Regions from separate parts of the Homo sapiens genome. Here regions 2, 3 and 4 are each linked to region 1. Evidence: promoter capture Hi-C in 16 types of primary human blood cells and fetal thymus (Javierre and others, 2016). All regions are on one chromosome and are shown on one strand. The core of a region is centred on a gene start or on the middle of the fragment in contact, and the rest is flanking DNA. Distances in the headings are between cores, read along the strand shown.

The links. The method cuts DNA at HindIII sites, captures the fragments that hold promoters and counts their contacts. A CHiCAGO score of 5 or more calls a contact.
Region 2: a fragment that was not itself captured here is called in contact with the fragment with the promoter of RTL9 in region 1 in 2 of 17 cell types (activated CD4 T cells and non-activated CD4 T cells); the score reaches 6.4 in activated CD4 T cells.
Region 3: a fragment that was not itself captured here is called in contact with the fragment with the promoter of RTL9 in region 1 in 4 of 17 cell types (non-activated CD4 T cells, activated CD4 T cells, naive CD4 T cells and 1 more); the score reaches 6.7 in non-activated CD4 T cells.
Region 4: a contact is called between a fragment that was not itself captured here and the fragment with the promoter of RTL9 in region 1, in 6 of 17 cell types (total CD8 T cells, naive CD4 T cells, naive CD8 T cells and 3 more). The highest score is 7.3, in total CD8 T cells.

What each region holds. Positions count from the first base shown.
Region 1 is chrX:110,357,506-110,360,205 of GRCh38, forward strand. It overlaps RTL9 (retrotransposon Gag like 9), which reads left to right and starts at 1,343. Exons shown (of 4, transcript NM_001385449.1): 1 at 1,343-1,411. It also overlaps a transcript of AMMECR1 not described here. The HindIII fragment of the contact is 7,244 bases long and covers 1-2,700 here.
Region 2 is chrX:110,144,958-110,147,657 of GRCh38, forward strand. The region is part of intron 5 of TMEM164 (transmembrane protein 164); the gene reads left to right. Among named protein-coding and RNA genes, the nearest start is that of MIR3978, 64 kb to the left of the region's middle. The HindIII fragment of the contact is 4,211 bases long and covers 1-2,700 here.
Region 3 is chrX:110,203,446-110,206,145 of GRCh38, forward strand. All of the region lies in intron 3 of AMMECR1 (AMMECR nuclear protein 1), which reads right to left. Among named protein-coding and RNA genes, the nearest start is that of SNORD96B, 20 kb to the right of the region's middle. The HindIII fragment of the contact is 2,983 bases long and covers 1-2,700 here.
Region 4 is chrX:110,181,578-110,184,277 of GRCh38, forward strand. It overlaps a transcript of TMEM164 not described here. Among named protein-coding and RNA genes, the nearest start is that of SNORD96B, 42 kb to the right of the region's middle. The HindIII fragment of the contact is 5,837 bases long and covers 1-2,700 here.

The DNA.
Region 1 (2,700 bases), core at 93-2,592:
ACAGATGTGTAAACCAAAAATAATTAAATTATTTGGTAATCATTCTTCCTTGCTGTAGGCTTTAAATAGTATTAGATCTTTGGGCATGAAATATATTTAATCCAGTTGTTAGATATAGTTACATTTTCAAAGCTGGATGAATCTTGTATTCTCACTGAGTACAGTTCTCCAACTGATGTGTCAAGGATGATGCTTGTATAACTATAGGAGGGAAATCCTCTGTGATTAATGCATGCAGGAGAAAATACTATGCTCTTCCCTGTGGGTGCAGGGCATGTTTCTACATACCCACATTGTGTGGGAAGCAGAGTGGTTATACTTGCCCTTCTTGGATTTTTTCTCAAGGCAAGACCCTGGCCTCATCCTCCAAATGCATGTTCCAGTCCCTCTCTCACATCAGGGGTGTTTACGAGACTGACTTGGATAACTTTTGCAAAATATACTTGCCTGGCCCTCTGTCTCCCCATTGGACATTTGTTTCATGAGGAGTATCATTTCTAGGGTAAAAGCAAGGATTTTGAAAAAAAATTCTTTGCCATTTTATCAGAAGAATTATATTTAATGAAATTAAAAATAAAAATAGGTGATTTTGATGTTCACCCTAGGCTAAGAGGACCACTGCTGTCTTTGAGGCATTTACAGACATATGGAAATCTGAAGCATACTTAGAGTTGCGGGTTCTTTCTCTGTAATTCTTTTAAACTGGGCATAAACCTCAAAGGGAGTGTAAAATGCAGAGTGTTGTCAACTTATCACACCAAGAATATTTTTTTGCACCTTTTTAGTTTGGAAGGGTCAAATTGAGATGACAGAGGAATAGTGGATAAGAGCTATAGTGCTATTAAATTACATTCTAGAGTTGGGAAAATCGAGACCCATAATCCTAGGAATTATTAATGATAAGAGCTAACACTTTCTGAGTGCTTACCACATGCCAGGCCCTATACTGAATGCATCATGTCCATTTTCTCATTTGATCCTGACAACCACCTGTGAGGCCTCATTTTGAAGACAAGCAAGCTGAGGCTCAGACCTTGGATTTGTCCAAGGTCACTCAGTTGGTCATTTACAGAGCCCTGATTCAAACTCTCTTTTGCTTGATTACAAAGCCATTGCTCTAAAAGATTAGATTATACTGTCTGTATTTGCTTCTGGGAGCTTATGGAATTCACTCCTATCTGTTCTCACAAGGAACTCTATTGGGTTTTGAAAAAGGCTAAAGAATTGAAAAGAAACTTTGTAGGCTGGGAAACATAGTGTCCTTTGAGCAGTGAGATAGGCTAAGCTCAGAGGACTGGGCTCTGGAATGTGGAAAGGAGACGTGCCCACTGGAGAGCAAGTCAGAACTTTCGTGAGCCCTGCTCCAGGTCCCAGGAGAAAGTGCCAGCCATGAGGACTGGAGTATTGCCTGGTAAGGAGAAGATTATTATTTTATCTAACACGTTCTTCTATAACGCTCTATATGCTAGGCACTGGTCTGCACTGCTCTAAGTACTTTATAAGTATTAACTCCTTTACATCTTATAACACTTCCCTGGAAATAGGCATTATTATTGCCCCCATAATACATATGAGTAAACTGAAGTTCAGAGATGTTAAATAACTTGTTCAAGGTCACATAGCTGGTTAAGTGCCAGAGCCAGGCTTTGAACCTAGGCAGTCTGGATCTAGTGGCTGTGTTATACTGCTTCGCAACAGAAACTTGATTTTTCTTTCTTCTGTGTTTATCATCCTTTCTCAATCACTCCTGGGCAAGTCTACTTTGCTAGCAAATTTCCCTTACCCCTTTGGCTTTTTTTTCACCCATGAACCCTCTAATGTTTTCTGCAGCTTCTTTGAGCTCATTCTTTATCTTCCACACTGCCTCTTTTGGCATTACTCATGAACGACATGCTCTTTTCATCTGCCAAATATTTTTTCCATAAATTATCCCATCTCAACTTGGGAAGTCACAATGGGAAGTATTGTTCCTATTTTGTGAATGAGGCAACTAAGGCAAGCAACTTTCCTGAAGTCTCACACAACCATCTAGTGGCAAAGTGCACTAGAATCCAGATTCTCTGATTCTGAATCTAATGTTCTTGTCCATTGCACCATCTGATGGAATTTAACTATCTATTCATTAATTAATTTATTCATTAATATTGTAAAAATATACTGAGTGTCTTACTGTATGGTAAGGCCCTGGGTGCAAAAGTCGGTATAAAAATTGTTGCTCTTAAGCAACAGACAACACAGAGAGATAAGGTCTCACCATAAAAAGTTAAATAGCAGCACATATACTAAGTGCCAAATGAGTGGTCTGGTCACATCATACAAGAATTTTGAGGTTGGATATGTAGCATCAAAGACTGCTTTATCAGAAAGGTGAGACTTGAACTTGGCATAGAAGGGTACTTAGAACTTAGAGAAGAGAATGGAGCAGCACTTTCCAAACTCTGGGAATGGTGTGCATTAAAGCAGTCCTTCACAACCTTTATTGTGTCATGGCATGCAGAGAAAAGCATAGTATTTGTAAAGCACACTAGGCTGAATGGAGGAAGCAGTTTGACATCTAGAGGCAAGCATTCTAGGAGTTTCAACAGCACTGTCTCTGGGCTCAGTTGAGGACAGAGAAGAAATCTCATAGCCTCAGACACTTGTAATATGTTTGGGAAGGTCTGCACTAGGTATTGGGGGCACACTGTGGTCATGGTGGGT
Region 2 (2,700 bases), core at 25-2,524, 210 kb before region 1:
TGCTTCCCAGGATCTTCAGCTGCCGCTTGACTGAGTTTCTTCAACATAATTTATGCCGGGCACCAGGAAGTGGGGAGATGGGAATGGACGAGGCCTGCAAGGGGTCTGGGGACTTTTTAGACCCACCCTTCACTGGGTGACTATGGTGCTGCTGACTGTCTGTCACAGGGCCTGGGCTTTGGGTTCTTGATGGTGGCATTGTGTTTGCATGGAGCCCCCCACACTGTCACCTTCTTGTACTTGTGCCTTCCCCCTGCCTCAATGTGCAGTGTGGGATAGAAGGAGAGAGTAAAGCACTCGGTCCCCTCAAGAACAAAAGAAGATATTGTAAGGGGCAAGAAGTCCGGGGACCAGGGCAATTATGGGATTGAGGGGAGAGGCAGGTGAAAGAGTGGTGGTCACCCATGTAAAATAAACCACTGAAAACCTTCATTTGGTGAAGAGGGAGAGACCACCAACCTGGTAGAGGCAGCCTGGAAAGGAAGCTGATCTATTTGTAACCTCTCAGTGACCCTTAGATTATCCCTTCCCTCTATTGTGTAACAGACAAAAGGAAAGGGGTGCCTATCCATCTAGGCTTGTTGTGAGAGCCACTCCTTCTCAGTGTTCTTTACTTTCTGAAAGGCCCTGTGACTGGAAGTCATCCTCTTTTAGTTTTAGCCCCAGCCTCTCTATCTCAGTTGCTGAGACTTTTCTGCTCCTACCTCACTCCAGGCAGCAAGGGTTTCATTTCTACCATACTGAAAGTGGCATGAGGCCACATGGGCCCTTGAGCTCACTGGAAGATAGTCTGGGAGTTCTGCTGGGCACTGCTGCTTCTTGGCTTATGCGTGGATGCTCTAAATCAGGCATTCCGGCAGATCTTAAGATCTGGTGTGAGATAGCCCCAAGGACTGGTCAACCCAGGAACATATTACAGGATGGAGTCTACTTATAGTCCAGAGATTTGCCTCCTATGCCTTGATTTCTATCAGTTCTCCATACTTGCCTAAATATTCTTTGAGACTGCTTTTACCCTGTGCGGCCACTTGGGGTCTCACGATGTCCCAAAACACTTCCTTTTAATTTGCTGTAAAAGCACTATTTTCCTCACGAGGCTTTAAGGAAAGTCTGAAGTTCCAATATCCAGGAGACTTGTGCCATTTCTCAGGTCTGTCCCCTGTGGCACAGGAAACAGCCTCTTAATATTAAGTCTCAGAAATACACACATTCTGAATAGAACCAGGCAGATAGGTGTTCCTGGGCCTCAGAACCCTGCTACTCATCGTTCCTGGCTTCTGAGGTGTGTGATGGAAGTCCTAGCCAAATCTGCATGGCTGTTATTTAAACATATTTGTACTCTAAGGTCACCATAAAAATCTGTCAGGTAGCTGGGTTAGACTGGTCTGACATGGAAAATACCAAGTAGCCATCTTTCCTCCCTCCAAAAGAATAATCCAGGAAGCCACATCCTCAAGACTTGGCTAACTCTAAGATAATTGTATCTCCTTAGAGCAGATCCTCCCGATAGCCCAGTTCCCTAAGTGGCGAGGTGAGAGATAGTAGGGCTGTAATGAGAGACAGTATGCTCTGTTATTGCTAATAACCAATAGATACCCTGGTGCAGTGAGGGTTTAGCTTGCAGCACCAGTGGAGTGATCTCACCAAACTGACTTTTTACTCCAGGACCTCAATGAGAGCATCTACCACCCCGCAGAAGTTGATGGGCCCCAGTACCTTCTATCTGGCCAACTTTGAGCTATTTTGAGGGCTCATCTCCCATCTCCCTTTCCAGCTCTTTACTGCCATCTGCTGTTCACTTGGGGGGAATTATGAGCATTGAGAGAAACATCTGGATTTCTTCACCTTTGATCCCAAGCCTTGGACCTAGGCCTTGCAGAGGGAGAATGGATCTGAAGCAAGCTGTCAGAAGATTAGTTTTCTGTAAACCAAGAAAGCCGAGAGTCTGGGGCTTCTGTTCCCTAGAAGTCGCTTGTAATTTTGTAGAAATAAATGGCTTAGCAATTTTTACCCAGTACAAGACAGCTCTCCTATAGGTATCTCCCATGCCCAGGAACCCTGTTTTCCTGAAAGGCAAGGTCCTGCTTGAGCATATAGTGCCTCTTCCTATGGTTTGGGGTGGGTGGGTAGGTGGCGCCTTGTGGGAAACCCACTCATCCCTTATTGTTGCAGACCTTATGCACTGTCACAGTACATGGGACCTCTCTCATCCACACTGCTCTTTTCTTCCTCTGGCCTGTCCCTTCATTTCCCTGTTTCCTTTCCTTCAAACTTGTTGCCTGTGGCCCTCTGGAACTCTATTTCTTTTTTTTCTGTGTTACAGTATTTTTAAATTTAATTTTTATTAGATACTGACAAATTATGCTTTTATATATGTGTAGGGTACAAGGTGATGCTACGCTATATGTATACAATGCAGAATGATTGAATCAAGCTAATTAACAAACTATATTTCTTACAAACCACTCCCAACCCCACCGGCAGCTCTGCATGGGGCACAGAGCCTTCCTGTCTCTTGCCTACAGCTTCCTCTAATGGAGGCTGCTCTTTCTGCCCTGCCCCATATGCTGCAGAGCCCCCTCTGTCTCTTCTAGAGCACTATCTCATCTGTACGTTAGGGGAAAAAGGCTTTCTCTTTTACTATTCTCTCTCTTTTTTTTTCATCACCACCATCACTTGACCTCTTGGTCCCTTCCCCTA
Region 3 (2,700 bases), core at 89-2,588, 150 kb before region 1:
GAGCTAAAGATCAAAATTAAAAGTTCTTAACTTCTTTGTGAACATTGATAATAAAAACGAAATTTCAAAAGCATAATGACACCATTCTGTTCTCTTGGATCTGTGGTTGCCTCAGATCAATGGTTCCCAAGTGGAGGGTCAGGTTGTGCAAGGTACTGGAATGGAGATGTAAGACCAGGTAAACATTATTACCCAAGATGGAGGCTTCTTTTCAGAGCAGGTGAGTAAAGTCATAAACCTTTATACTTTCCATGTGTATGGATGTAAAGGTCTAGAAGAGGAAAGGGGGTCAATGAAAACTTCTTTTGCTTCTTCTACCCCCAGTCTCAAATTTTCCAATTTTTTCAGGAATAAAAAGTCCTCTGGGAAAATCCATTTCATCTTTCCCCAGGTCTTCACACATCTATCCATTAGAGCCTGTCAGATCTTCTGAGGAATTTATGGTTTTTTATTTTTATTAAAGCATATCTCTGGCTATTTCTTCTATCTATTTAATATCAGTACTCTTACGAATCTCTTTCTGCTAAAAATGCGACCAGGGTAGCTGTTTAAAAACTAACACAATACTTGCCTCCCATACTGTGTGGGAAATAACTACGTATATAGCTGAGAAGAAATATGAGCGCTTAGCTATCAGGCATTTCCAGGATAAAGGACATCTACTAATCTCTCCAGTGCCTGATGAGACAATGACAAATTTGCAAAATTTCCTGTATACTGACTTCCTGATCAGTAGCTTTGAATTTTTTTTTCCTTTGACAATATCAGATTCCTCATAATTTGTTTTTTAAAAGATACACAGCATAAGTAATTTATACTCCATCATCCACTGAAGTGAATTTTGAATCTTCAACTCTATTTATCAAAAACCCGTCATGTTAAAATTGAAAAGAATTTTGGTGTTTATTAAGGTGTCTAGTCAAAATTGTGATAGGAAGAATGTCTCCCTATCTGTGAGATGAGAGTGTCAGACAAAATTAATGATATTTAACTGGCAAGGGGTGGGGAGCGGGGCTGCAAAGTTTATCAGAATTTCAACAAATACGTTTTGGAAAAAGAACAGCTCCCCAGGTAATTTTTATTCTAATTGAACTAGATAACCTCTAATAAGCATTCTAGTTCTGACAAACTGTGGCTACATACTAAGATTTTTAAAAGTGATTTAGGCAAATGGGGTTAATTTAGACACTTAAGTCCTTTCTTTATAGGAGTACATCCTGTGTTCTTGAACAAAAATATCAGATTTTTAATGTCTAGTAATTTAATAATTAAAAGAAGTTAAGACTGATTGTATGGTATGTGAATGGTATCACAATAAAGCTGTGTGTGTATGGATACAAAGGACATATTGGCCAAAACAAAAATTACTCACGAATAAGACTGCTTTATTTACTCTGCATTTTGAGAAGGTCCTACCATCAAATTTGATAAGAAAAAAACCCCAAATTCTCCAATTTTGATTTAGTACCACATTTACAACTTTTAATTCTTTTCTGGGTTCCTATGACTCTGAACAATTGAAAGCCCCTGTAAATTGAACTGTAAGTATAGTGGTTTTAAAGTGAATTCTTTTTATGAACTTTTTTCATAGGTCAAAAATACTCCCACAAAGCTACAAAGCCCAAACCAGAGTGACTCATTTTTTTCAGCTAGTAGAATTAGGAGAATGGTAATAATGTTCTTAACAAAATCATAGTAGCTTTCTTTCTGTTACCTCTTGAGCAACAGCATTTTCTTTACTCCTAGAACCACAAGCCACTAAATAGTCATACTGAACAATCAAAACAGGAGAAGGAGAACATGGCCTGCTGTGGAGAATGACCAATTCTGGCCAACCTGTGGAAATCACTGGCTTTGCAATGAAATGAGCACCAAAACTAATTCCATATTGTTTCAGGGAGGCATCTGTCACAGCTACAACTCCAAAATGTAACCCTCATGCATAATTGAATCTTCCCTTATACATATTGGAGAATCCTCTGGCCCAGCAACATCCCAAGAGACAAAGGCTATAGTTGCAATTATAAACTAGATAAAAGATCAGCGAACCAGGGAACTGGGATTCCCCGAAGCAGATCTTTAAAACACTACCACGGTAACTTTCTACGTATGGATGAGGGGGCAGCATGTGGGAATACTATGTCACTAAACATACCCCTAACTAATCCTGCCACTGTTTGAAGTACAGCCAGGTGGGTACAAACTGGAAACTTGCAAATCTAGCCTTATGGGTCTGCAGGTCATTTTCAAAATTACTAGATGGTCTATGAAAAAAATGCTTTCGAGGTCCATCAGTTGCGATAATATTCTTTTAATCAAGACTACTTTTGCTAAGCAAAGCTAAAAATCAACCCCAATGGTAGTAAATTAAATGTAGGACTTATAGATAAGAGGATATGGAATTAAGCAGAGCTGTATCTGTGTGTGCTGATAGAACATTAAGACCAGTTCAACGGATTCATATTTCATGCTAAAAAGAAAGCCATATTTATTCTGAACCATTCCATAGCAAGTGATTTTTATTAATGCTATTATACAATCTTTTGTTTTTAACATTGTTCAGAATGATTAAATATCAAGATTAATGTTAAGACCCTAAAATATATCTTGATTATTCTGGGGTTGATTATCCAGTTTAGGGATTATGCATCCCCAGCTCCACCTGGCCTCAGCCCCATCCTCTTTCGTCTCTTGTCCATT
Region 4 (2,700 bases), core at 84-2,583, 180 kb before region 1:
CTTTCCCTAAATAATAGTTGTTGTCCTGTAGTAGTCAAACCAGCATTGTAGCAGGACTGAGCAGGCAGGGCCTGCTCTCCCAGTTCTTCCCTTTCAGGTCCCGAGTGCCCTTGGCAAAGTCATACCTTTCCTGAACTCCATTTGTAAAATAGTAGTAAATATCCTTGTCTAGCTTACCCCACAGGACATCTATGAGGAATCCAGTGAGACCAGTGGGTGTGAGAGGGCTCTATAAAGTTCTGTCCAGTGGAAGGGGTTCCTATTTCCAGACAGTTTGGTTACTATGCTTGTTCCCAGAGCACAGAGGTTAGCTGGGGTTTTGACTGCACTCATACCCACTCTGCCTTAATGTGCCCTGTGTGGTTGCGGTCTGTGGTGTGTATGTGAGTGGGTGTTTGTGTGTAGGACAGGTGATACCTCAGTTTATTTCATGGACTCTAAGACACATTTTTTTCACATTTTAACATCACTAAAATTGGAATGCATCTTAAAATCAGTGGCATGACAGTTTAATCAGCACCTTTTTTTTTCAGCAGTATATAAAATAACAGACATCTTATAATCTAAGGCATATTAGAGTCAATGAAATACTGTAATTGTTAACTTAGACTCCTCTTCCTCTTCTCCCATGAAAGTCATCTTCTTGCTAGAGAAAACCCTTTTGGAAAAATATACAGACTTTTAGCATACAGCCTCATTCTAACACTCCTCTTTTTCTTCCCTGCCAGCATCCACCCAGGCCAGGCAAGGCTTCTGCTTCTTGACCAGAAGGGGACCCACTTTGTTGAGCTCTCTCTTGGGACAGATGGTTTGTGGGACATGAGAGGGAAGAGGCAGAGTATACCTGCATAAGGGAGCCCACCGTGCCAAATGACAGGGAAGGAGTCAGACAAGCTAGGCCAGCCAGCCCCAATAGCTCTGGTTTCTTTCTTTCCCCAACAGCAGCCTGGCCAGACAACTCAGCCTGCTTCCCTGGGGAACTCCTAGGGCTAGTCATTGCCAGAGGTGAGGTGAGCTGGCAGAAGTAGGGGTGGGGGTGTGAAGCCCAATGTGTCCTGAACTCCCTGGGTTGATGTGAGTGGCTGTCTGGCCCATGCAGAAGAACACAATGATTTCCCTACCTCCTCCAACAAGGTGGAAGAAGAGTCAGGTAGTAAGCCTTTCAAGGAAAAGCAGCACTTTGTCCTAGGGCACCCTGAGCCATGGGCATTTCACTGCAGTTAGGAATTGCCACCAACATCCCCTCAGTCCTGGCAGTCACTCAAATTAAGCTCTGCCCTTGTAACCTTTAGGCCAACCTCTTCCAGAAGGGAAGAGGAGTGTCTGCATAGTGAGATCTAGGGATACTTGGTCACAGGAAGCCGCTTTTGGACATTTCTCCCCCAGAGAGCTTAGCAAGACATGATCAGCCTGGATTACAGCTGCCCTCACGTAACTGGGTTAAAGTGTTGGCCTACTTAGGCCCCTCCTGCAGTGGCTTCCTTCAAAGCTGATGAGGCCGATTAGGGTGCTATTTCTGAGATCTAGTCGTGTACCCAGAAGCCTGAGGGCGGTCCTCCCCTGACTAGAAAGACAATGACTAAGGCTGGACAGCCAAGGGCAGAGTCAGATTTGCCCATAGGAGAGCACTGCCGTCAGAACTCATGTATGCTTGTAAAAGAACCAAATAATATCAAGGCTAAGTCCCTGGATTTTGAACTTCAAAAACCAAACCAACCAATCAGTTTTCAGGGATAGGCCTAGTCCTACACCTTTGCCATCTTCAGAGCTAAAGAGAGATAGCAGATCGTCAAAATAAAATCTTCAATTATAGTTGTAGTCACTAGCCGCCACTCAGTAGGTTCTGTGCATTTGAGATTGTTAACTAACCTCTGAGCCTCAGTTTGCTCATCTACAAAATGGCAATAATGATAGCATCTACCTCATAGGCTATTGTGAGGATTGAATAGAAAAGGCACATAAGGCACTTGGCACAGTACCTGGCAGCACATTTGTTAGATACCACCACTACCATCACCACAACCATTACCACCACCATTGTCACCATCATCATCCTCATCAAGACAACAGTGAATGGGAAAAAGCTCAGTCTCTGGAGCCTGACAAACTTTTTTTGAATCCTGGCTTTGCCACTTCACAGCTACGTGGCCTCAGATAAGTGACAACTTCTTTGAACTTGATTCTTATTCTGTAAAATGGGAAACTCATAAGGCTATTGAAAAGTGTATAACATGGTTCTTCACAGTAAGCACTCAATAAATGTTAGCTATTATGATTATTAAAAAGGAGTGATCAAGGTCAGTGGTTGCCTGGTGTTAGGAGGATACAGAGATGAATGGGCTAAGCACAGAGGGTTTCTAGGGCAATGAGACTACTATTCTGTGTAATACTATAATGGTGGATACATTTCATTATATATTTGTCAAAACTCATAGAATATACAATACCAAAAGTGAACCCTAATGTAAACTTTGGACTTTGGATGATAATGATGTATCAGTGTAGGTTCATCAGTTGTAACAAATGTGCCACTCTGATACAGGATGTTGATAGTGGGGTAGGCTGTGTGTGTGATGGGTGTATAGGAAATATGGGGGAACTGTCTATACATTTTGCTCAATTTTGCTGTGAACCTAAAACTTCTCTGAAAAATAAAGTATATTTAAAATGAAAAGGAAAAAAATGGGAGTGATCATACTA